Linked DNA regions of Homo sapiens: all the other regions are linked to region 2. Evidence: promoter capture Hi-C in 16 types of primary human blood cells and fetal thymus (Javierre and others, 2016). All regions are on one chromosome and are shown on one strand. Each heading gives the region's core, a stretch centred on a gene start or on the middle of the fragment in contact. The rest is flanking DNA. Distances are from core to core; before and after follow the strand shown.

Region 1 (2,839 bases), core at 177-2,676, 690 kb after region 2:
GAAAATGATCTCAGAAGGACTTGTGAGATGTTTAACAGAAACTATATTTTAAAAACATTTTGTATTTTACCTAGCAAATATGCTGATTCTTGTTTTTCAAAATGTACTGCTCATGCAAAGGAAATGCAAAAGTATATCCAAGGTGTGATTAACTTTCAGGTATTCCTCTGAAGCTTGCTGAGTTGCAAAATCTGTGTGCCCAAGAGAAACCGTATCTTTGCAACCTTGCAAATATAGTCTGAATCTTAGTTTTGAGGAAATTTTAATTGTAAATGATTGAGGGAAATGCTTATCTGTGACTGGCTTGACTTGGTGAGCACATCTATTTCCAAAATAAAATTAACTTCAGGGTTTCAAAAAATCTCTCTCTCTCTCTCTACCTGTCTCTTTCTCTCTGTCTCTTTGTGTGTGTTTATGTTTTAAAGATCAAGGCCTTTATAGGAGGCAAATGAGAAAAGCTAAGCCAATCTTAGAAAGAAAGAAATATCTATAATAGGATGTACAACATACAAAATAAATGCAATTTGATGCATTTTTTTCCAGAAGGGCAGGACAAGAGACAAATAACTGCCCCCCAGGGACTCACTCAGCCATGACCTATGCTTGAACACATAGATTTCACCTCGAACACTAGCCGTTGCACATTTAGTTAATACTAGATGCTATATTCTTTATCTTCTTCTGCCAGGACACCATCTTGTCTAGGAATAATATTATTCCCAATTTATAGATGAGAAGACCTGGACTTACTTAGAGAGATAACTAACAGGTTCAAAGTTTACAATTCTATGGTGGAAGAGCTAGGATTTTATCTAGGTCATTGTAACTTAACCCATATATTTTTTTTTCTCTCTCTCTCTCCCTTTCTTTTTGTCCTAGGGTGAAGAAGAGTGCTCACCAGATTCCCTTCTGGTCTGGAAAAAGAAATCCCTTCTTTTGTGGATGTCATCTCTACCATCTCTCGGTGAAAAATATTTCAAGAGAATCCTAAGATGGAGAGAGCATTGGAAGTCATCCGGCCCAATTCCCTTGTGCAATTCAAAGCTTCTTTGTAAGGTAGGGCACCATTTACTTTTATAAGGCCAACTTTGTGGAGTTTACTACTTTATAAAGCAACCTATCAAATATTTACAGCTACAATTGTGAAGAAATACTTGATAAAACTCTTTGACCAGTTTTGCCTAGTAAAACCTTAAAATTACTTTTTAGTTATCTCATTTATTAAATTGTTCCTTTGTTCGTTCACTCAAAAATATTAATTAAGCCAGGCTTGGTCTTATTTAGCTTTGAAATTACAGTGCTGGATGGTTGTGAATGCATACTTTATTCTACAAGCCCCGTTGCTTCTAGTTCATATGGAATTTGCAGGTAACTAAAACTCTTTGTCTTTTTTCCCCAAGAACTGTTGCTTAGTCAGATCTGTTCTATTTAACCTGCAGTTAAACGTTTCCCTTAAACTGAAGCATTGAATTGTTCAGTTTTGACCCTTCTGCCAGTTTTTTGAATGCTGATTAATACCTGAGAAGGTACTCTAGTTTTCTGGTGTCTGCAAGATTGGTACACACGCTGTCTGTGTCTTCATTTATATGTTCATTAAACATACTGGATAGAAGGGGGTCAAGTTCAGAAAGCTGAGGTTCTGTAGTACAGATCTCTCCAACGTTTTGACACCTAATATATTACTTAATATTTTGCTGAGTGGATTTATTCAAAGAAATGAATCCAACAACCTACATGCCTTAATTTTGCCTAAAACTATTCATGAGAAGTGGTTAAAGCCTTGCTAAATTCCTATGAAAGAAGCTTGACCTTCTGGTGTAATTGTCTCAAGCCTGCCTTGCTTGGCCAAGGACCCAATCTTTAGGCATAATCCCAGAAGACAGGGTCAAGTTCAGAGGCTTAAAGTCACAATATGAGGAGAGATACAAGCAACTCTCATAAAAGTAGAAATGACGTCCATCTTGTATGACTTTACTTTTGGTTAATCTTTACTGCCTGTAATTATCTACCATCTCATGTTTGGGATAGCCACAGCATATTTTAAGTATAATCTTCTAGAATTGTTCTTGGAATAAATTACTTTCCTGAGGGCAAGTTGTGCCATTATTTTTCTTCTCCCTCTGTGCAGCTCCATGATCTTCAATTGTCACTTAGGTTAACGCAGTCACTCATAAAATGTCAGGCTCCTAGAGGCTAATTCCTCTACGTCAGAAACTTGGGACATGTTTTGAAATACTCACTGCTTCCTAATATCTTAGTTAAATAATCAATTTAGAACTTACTCTTTTTCAGTTTCAGTAAGTATGATTTGCATTTATTTATGGGAGTCAAGCAATACTGTTTAATCTCTATCTTAATACTGTTTAATCAAGCAATACTGTTTAATCTCTATCTATAAAAGTAAGATGAACTCTTTCTTTTATTTTTTAGAAAAATGCCCCCAGAAGTTTGTTTGCATCATGAAGATCAGATTTTGAGGATCCAGTCTGGCTCTTCCCTGTACAAAACATTCCTCACAAACAGAATATGGACAATTGTTAAATGTCAAAGGTAAAGTTATTGTGGGAACTCCTTCAAAAAGTTCAAGTGAGAGCCCATTCTATGAATGACCATTTACATCTAATTTTTTTCTGTGCTATGTTACTTATTCTGAAGTGGTTGATCCAATTCCTAAAAGGGAATATTTCATTACCTTTTATTTCCTATAGCATCCATTCTGACCCCTTTTCGGTTTAATTATTCCCTGATTCCAGTCTTCATTCACTCATTTATTTGAGGAATATTTATTGACCAACAACTATGCCAGGTCCCATTCTATGTGTAGGGACTATAAAGTTGA
Region 2 (3,058 bases), core at 126-2,625:
TGGGATCCCCGGTGTTTGCGGACCCGACCGGCAGGAACAGAGATGGAGTGTCCCGCGCCCGCATGGGGAGTGAGCTCTCTTCCCCAAAGAGGGAGCGAGCCGAGAAGCACTTTTTCCTCCGGTGCGTGCGTCACGGCCCGGGACAGGCGTCGAGTCCGGTTTGGAGTGGGGGCAGAGACGCGGCGAGGAGCCGCTCAAATGTCCGCTGACTGGGGGTTCGCCTTAATCTGTCCTCGCCAGGAGCGCTCGCCCTCGCCCTCCCGCTGGCTCGCTCCTGGGCCCTGGAGGGGCATGGGCCCGGGGGCGGTTCGGGAGGGGCCCCAGGTGAAGGGCGCCCGCACTTCTCCTGCGGCAATCATCGCTCTCCTGCCTCCACACGTCGCGGCAGCGGCCCGGCCCCGCGCCGAAACAGCAGCTGTGACTGACGGAGTCACCTCCCCGCGCGCCTGGCCACCCCCTCCTCCCCCGCCGCTCCCTCCTGCACCAACACGTCATGGAAACACGGACGTCAGAGCCTCTCAGCCAATCGCAGGCTGCGGCAGGAGGGAAGGGGCGCGCTGGAGGGGGCGGGGGCAGCGGCAAGCCAAGGCGCTCAGGGGAAGGAAGAAAGGGAGGGGCGTGCGGAGGCGCAAGTCCCCACCTCCGCCCCTCACTCCGGCCACCCTTTCCCGACCGCGCGGCAAGTTCTAATCGCCAGGCGCGCGCTCGCCAGCCGAGGGCGCGCTCGCCGGGTCCTCCCCTTAAACGCCCTCCCAGTGCCGCTCAGCTCCCAGTCCCGGTCCGAGCCGCGGTTCCTCCGCGCGCGCGCGCGCGCACTCGCCCGCCCCCAGGCTCCCCGCGGATCGCGTCACGTGACCGCGCTCAGCCAAGGCGGCAGCGGCGGCGGCGCGAGCTTCGGCGGCGGTGGCGGCTGTGGCAGCGGGAGCAGCTGCGCCGCCAGCGTGGAGCGGGAGGCGTGTGGGTGTGGAGAAAAGGGAGCGCCAGACCGGAACGGGTGAGCGTTCTCCTCCCCCTGCCTACCCCGGCAATCTTGCAGGCCACCCGGTGCAGACGGGGTCCCTGCCCGGAGCTGCGCGCAGCCCCCTCGTGCTCGGCCGTCCGCTCTCCGGTGCCCGCGGGCCCCGCCCCGAGTGGGGCGGGCTGCGGCGCTCACGGAGGTGGCTGCACCCCGCCCGCGGCTGCTGTTGCGGACGGCGGCGTGAGGCCGGCTGAGCTGCCCGTGCCGAGCGAGCGCGGCGCGCCCTGTGTGCCGCTCTGCGGAGCCGAGGAGGCGGGTCCTGCGGGGACGCGGGCGGCCACTCGGTGGCTGCCGGGCTCTGGGCGGGGACGGCCGGGCGCCGCCTCCTCCTCCTTCGCTGCCGCCGCCGCCTCCTCGCAGTGCAGCGTGAGTAGGGAGCCCCGGCTGGTGGACGCCGAGCCTCTCGGCTCCTTGGCCGCCCCATCCCCGAGGTGCAGCTGCACCTCCGCGTGGCGCCCCGAGCCCTGCGAGCCGGCTGCGGACGCGCTGAGGACGGAGCCCCCATCCTCTGCGTTTCCCGCTGCCCCTTAACGCCCCGCGACCCTCCCGCAGCCTGCCTTTCCTTCCCCCTCGGAAAATGGTTCCCACTGCCGGGCGAGGTGAGTGGCGGCCGCCGCCCGCCCGCGGCCGGGGGCGGCGGGGCAGGTCACCTGCGGGGGAGGCCAGGCGGAGCACGGAGGTCGGGCGTCGCGGCGGGGATCCTGATAGCTGGGTGCGCAGCGGGTTGCGCCGGATTCGGGAGAAGCTGACGGGGGCGGTCGGGGCCCCTCGCAGGTTGCCTCTTGCCGGGAGATTGTGAAGGTGAGCGGGCTTCTCGCCGTGCACCTCAGCGCCGGGTCAGTCTGGGAGTCGCTGCTCCGGGCCCGAGGGATGGGGCTTGTTGGGGCTTCTGGTCTACACCCGCAGGTCTTCGGCTTCACGAAGCCGCCTCGGCCGCGCCACAGCCCATCCCGCCACCGGTCGCCCCCGCCACGGCGCGTGGTGACCTTGAGGGCACCGTGCCCGGCACTCCCTCTCCCCGCGCCCCGGGAGGGTCACCCCTCTAATCCTTGGCCTCGGCCCCCCAGACGCACTGCGGGAGGGGAGCGGGGGCCCCTGGTCGGCCCCTGGCCCTGGTGGTTGATTGTTGGCGTGTCAGGACGGTGATTCCTCGGGAGTTGGAGAGCCGCCTGGTCTTTCTCCTCACGCCTTCCGTCTGGCCCCCCAGGATGTTCACAGTTGTTTCCGATTCGTGTTTATTCACTTAGTTTAAGAGAAAAAAGCCTGCGCCCCCACCTCCCTTTTTGAGGAAGGAGTCTGTAGGAGGACCGCGTTCCAGTGGCAGGGGTGTGGGGTGGGGGCTGTGCTCTCTTTATCCCATCCTGCGGGAGAATCCTGTGGCTAAGCTGGTTAGCGACCCCTGGTTCTGCGCCGCGGTCACCAGCCAGGTTGGTCTCTGTGCGCATTTCATTCACCAGTTTTCTGCGGGACTCGCAGCGCTGGGAGTGCTCGCACCCTGTGCGCTGCTTGGCTCGGAGGGGAGGGCAGGGCGTCCGGGTGGGTTAAAGGGGTCTGCAGGTACTTGGAGGGCTCGACCCTCCTCGACAGGCTGATATTTACCTTTTCTTTGGGTTAGAGCGCTGCAGACAGCCACCTTTCGCTTCTGTGCCCGCTACTTTTCTTGGTTTATTAATAATCTAATGGCTTCTGTTGGTATCGATTGCTGTTCGTGATAAATTAGCTACATAGATTTTTTTCATACGTGTGTAGGTATATGCATATATCTGAACTTGTCTGCCTGTCAACATGGAAGCCTTTGTTGTGTTTAACCTCCCCCACCTGAGGACAGTCTTATTTTAAAATAAGGCTTTTGTTCAGCGTGGGTGTATTTTATAATAAGAAGTACTTGTAAGGGCCTGGTTTGTATGAGGCTCTCATCTGGCAGAGGGTGTGTAACCCTTTGGATGGTGGCCCACGTGAGTGAATGGAGGGCCTTCACCACTTGCCCCGATGCCAGCCTTCCCGAGACTCCCTGTCCTTGTGTGTGGCAGGGGTGGATTG
Region 3 (3,049 bases), core at 105-2,604, 670 kb after region 2:
GTAAGGACAGTAGATGAGCCGGTGCAGAGCTGTGAAGGGGCATGCCATATTTGAAGCAAACCTCCAAGAGTTCAGAATGGCCAAGTTCAGGGCACTTATGCACAACCAGCAAAATGTAAGTTTTTTTTTTTTTTTTTTTTTTTTTTTTTTTTTTTGAGGATCTAAGCAATGAAAGTTTTCTTGAAAGTAATGGCAAAAACTGCAATTACTTTTACACCAACCTAATATTTTACTCCATGCTAAGGTGTATGGTCTTCATCCTATAGGGAGTGAGATGCAAAAGAACAATTTTGAGCACAGGAGTCTCATAAGTGATAGTTAAGAAACTAGGTGTCAATGGCGAGGAGAGAAATGAGAGCAGAGCAGGAGATTAGCTAAGAAATAATTTCCGGTATCCACGTGACAGAGGTTGGATGTATAGACTTAGGTGGTGGTATTCTGACCGAAGTCAAGGGATATTTAAAGAGTGACTGTCAAGATGTAGAAATTTGCTGATTGTGAGGAGGGAGGGGGAAAAGTAACCAGGCTCACAACCAGGGTGAAGAGGTGGGAGGCGGGGCTGCTGCCATTCAGAATGGAAAACCTAGAGGAAGAGTAGGTTGGAGAAGGGTAGAAGGGGATGTTGAGTTCAGTTTGGGGAATGTTGAATTAAAATAGCTTTTAGGATGCCCAAGTGAAGAAGCCCATGAGAGCTGACACTTCTATCTAATTCTGAGACTCCTTACTTTTATGCTGAATTCATTTCAGTTATGCAGGTTTACTGATGACATTTTCTGATTACTCAATAGGATATAAGAATACATATTTAATATATATCATGAGGATACAAGGACTTTAGAAGTCGTTGGTAGATATCATCGGTGTGTCTATTTTAATAACCTGTTTTCAATGTTTAATGGGAAGAAAAAGCATGAGATGGATTTCATGATCCATATACTCAAAGAACTAAAATATTCCAAAGATTCCTAATCTCCCTTTAATTTATATCGCAAAGGAAAATCATAGAGTAATAAATAATAAATGTTTAAATAGTTATTTATAAAATGTTTTATCTGCTTTTTATTATCCAAAATGACAGTGTCTATGAAGAATTATTTTGGGTAAAGAAATATGTATTTCTTCAAAATTGCTTTAGATAAGATAGTATTAGCAATCTTCATTATGAGAATATAAAAATACCCCAAATAATCAGAACTTACATCATAGTAAAACACAATCTACAGTCCCATTGCTAATTAGTCATTTTCTTTTTTTAAAAAGAGGCTTTTACTTATAGAATGTTGTATTTATCTCAAGAGAGCAGGTTTGTGCTGAGCCACAGAAGTTCCTTCTAGAGTTATGTCAAGTAGTACTGTATTTTTAAATGATTGTGGAAAATGTATTTTCCTAGCATTTTAGGAGCTCCCTGTTCAAGTTGGGGTCTCTCTGTTCCCATTAACTTTGATTTGATAGAGACCATACAAATGGAACAGACTTGAACATGATTGCAATTTCTCTTGGAAAGGTTCACTGAAGTTAAAACTCACTTTTTCTTGTGTCTCTAATTATCAGAAGCCCAGAAGACTAAATCCTTCACATTCATGTAAGTTTTCCTTTTGGACTCAAGAAGGGAAAGGGACCACTACAGATTCATCCATGATAATGAAGGGAACATCTTGTTTTCCCCATATCTCTTTCTTTGGTTGGATTTATTAGCTTGATTGGAGCCAGTATTTAGTGACTTTTGACAGATTGAAAATGTGGATTCTGTTTGTCTATGAGGAGGAACATAAAGCTGTCATGAAATTGACATGATACCCTGACACAATGTGCTTACATATTCATATATGCCAGGAGCTGTGTTTAAATGCAACTTTCTCATTATTGTTGAAAACTGAACAAATCCTTTCAACAATTATGTCAAGCTGATATACTATTTGTATTTTACAAATGAGAAAATTAAGATTCAAGGACATTAACTAACTTAGGTCAATACTAAGTCAAGTTTGTTTTTATTTAAACTATACGTTCTCTCCTTTAAATATCCTGCATGTGTTAAACCTAGGCATACACACCATAGTTTATACGTGGCCGTGCAAATCAGAAAGAGCCCTAGATTACAAGTTAAATGTAAGGAGTTCTTGTCCTGGTTTCAGTACTGATCACTTAATTCCTCTACAATTTTGCATCCATAAAATAAAAACAATGGCATCTGTATCTGTTTCTTCTGCTGTTGATATGAGGAGCACATGAAATAATGCTAGAGACAGAGTTGGTGCTATGGAAAAAAGATTGAAAGAGTCAAAAGACAAGAATCGACATTCTATCCCAACCACTCTCTTATCAATTCTGCAACTTTGAGCAAGACACTTTACAGTCTAAAGCTCAGTTTCCTCATCTATTAAATGGGAATATTCACCCATAGCCTGCCTATCTTACATGATAAACACTATGTAAATGAAACATGTAATTGTTAGTAAAATTTTAAAAGGTATTTATACACAGAGTTTGCAAGGTATTAGTCCTCTGGGCAGAATTTGTACTGGAGAGCGGACCATAAGTAAAAAAAATATATATGTTCAATATATGTGTTAGTTTTCTACTGTGTACACAACTCATTACCACAAATTAGTGATTAAGCAATAGAAATTTATCATCTTACAGTGTCAGTAGGTCAGGAGTCCAACACAGGTCTCACTGGGCCAAAATCAAGGCAGCAGTGAGCATCAGTGGGACTGTGTTGCTCAATGATGTCTAGGGGGAAAGCTGTTTCTTTGTCTTTTCCAACTTCTAGAAAGTACCCATATTTCTTGACTCATGTCCCTTTCCTTCATCTTCAAAGCTAGCACTGTTGCATCTCTCTGACCTTTCTTCAGTTATTCAATCTCTGTCTGAACACAGCTGGGAAAGACTCTTCAACTTAAATGATTTTTATGATTAGATTGGGACTGTATACATAATCTGGGGTACTTTCCCCATATCAAGGTCTATAAACTTAATCACATCTGCAAGTCCCCTTTGCCATCTGAGATAGCATATTCACAACTTCTGGGAATTAGATGTGGACATT

What was found. The method cuts DNA at HindIII sites, captures the fragments that hold promoters and counts their contacts. A CHiCAGO score of 5 or more calls a contact.
Region 1: a fragment that was not itself captured here is called in contact with the fragment with the promoter of ATP2B1 in region 2 in 1 of 17 cell types (fetal thymus); the score reaches 5.6 in fetal thymus.
Region 3: a fragment that was not itself captured here is called in contact with the fragment with the promoter of ATP2B1 in region 2 in 1 of 17 cell types (activated CD4 T cells); the score reaches 7.4 in activated CD4 T cells.

The regions. Positions count from the first base shown.
Region 1 is chr12:89,012,909-89,015,747 of GRCh38, reverse strand. LINC02458 (long intergenic non-protein coding RNA 2458) reads left to right here. Exons shown (of 3, transcript NR_038385.1): 2 at 880-1,056; 3 at 2,431-2,839. Among named protein-coding and RNA genes, the nearest start is that of LINC02458, 5.4 kb to the left of the region's middle. The HindIII fragment of the contact is 759 bases long and covers 1,047-1,805 here.
Region 2 is chr12:89,707,155-89,710,212 of GRCh38, reverse strand. It overlaps ATP2B1 (ATPase plasma membrane Ca2+ transporting 1), which reads left to right and starts at 1,375. Exons shown (of 21, transcript NM_001366521.1): 1 at 1,375-1,617. It overlaps ATP2B1-AS1 (ATP2B1 antisense RNA 1), which reads right to left and starts at 1,258. Exons shown (of 1, transcript NR_028138.1): 1 at 1-1,258. RefSeq lists silencers at 137-686, 707-1,726, 1,877-2,106 and enhancers at 2,297-2,396, 2,407-2,496. The HindIII fragment of the contact is 7,681 bases long and covers 1-3,058 here.
Region 3 is chr12:89,035,266-89,038,314 of GRCh38, reverse strand. No RefSeq gene overlaps it. Among named protein-coding and RNA genes, the nearest start is that of LINC02458, 17 kb to the right of the region's middle. The HindIII fragment of the contact is 7,011 bases long and covers 1-3,049 here.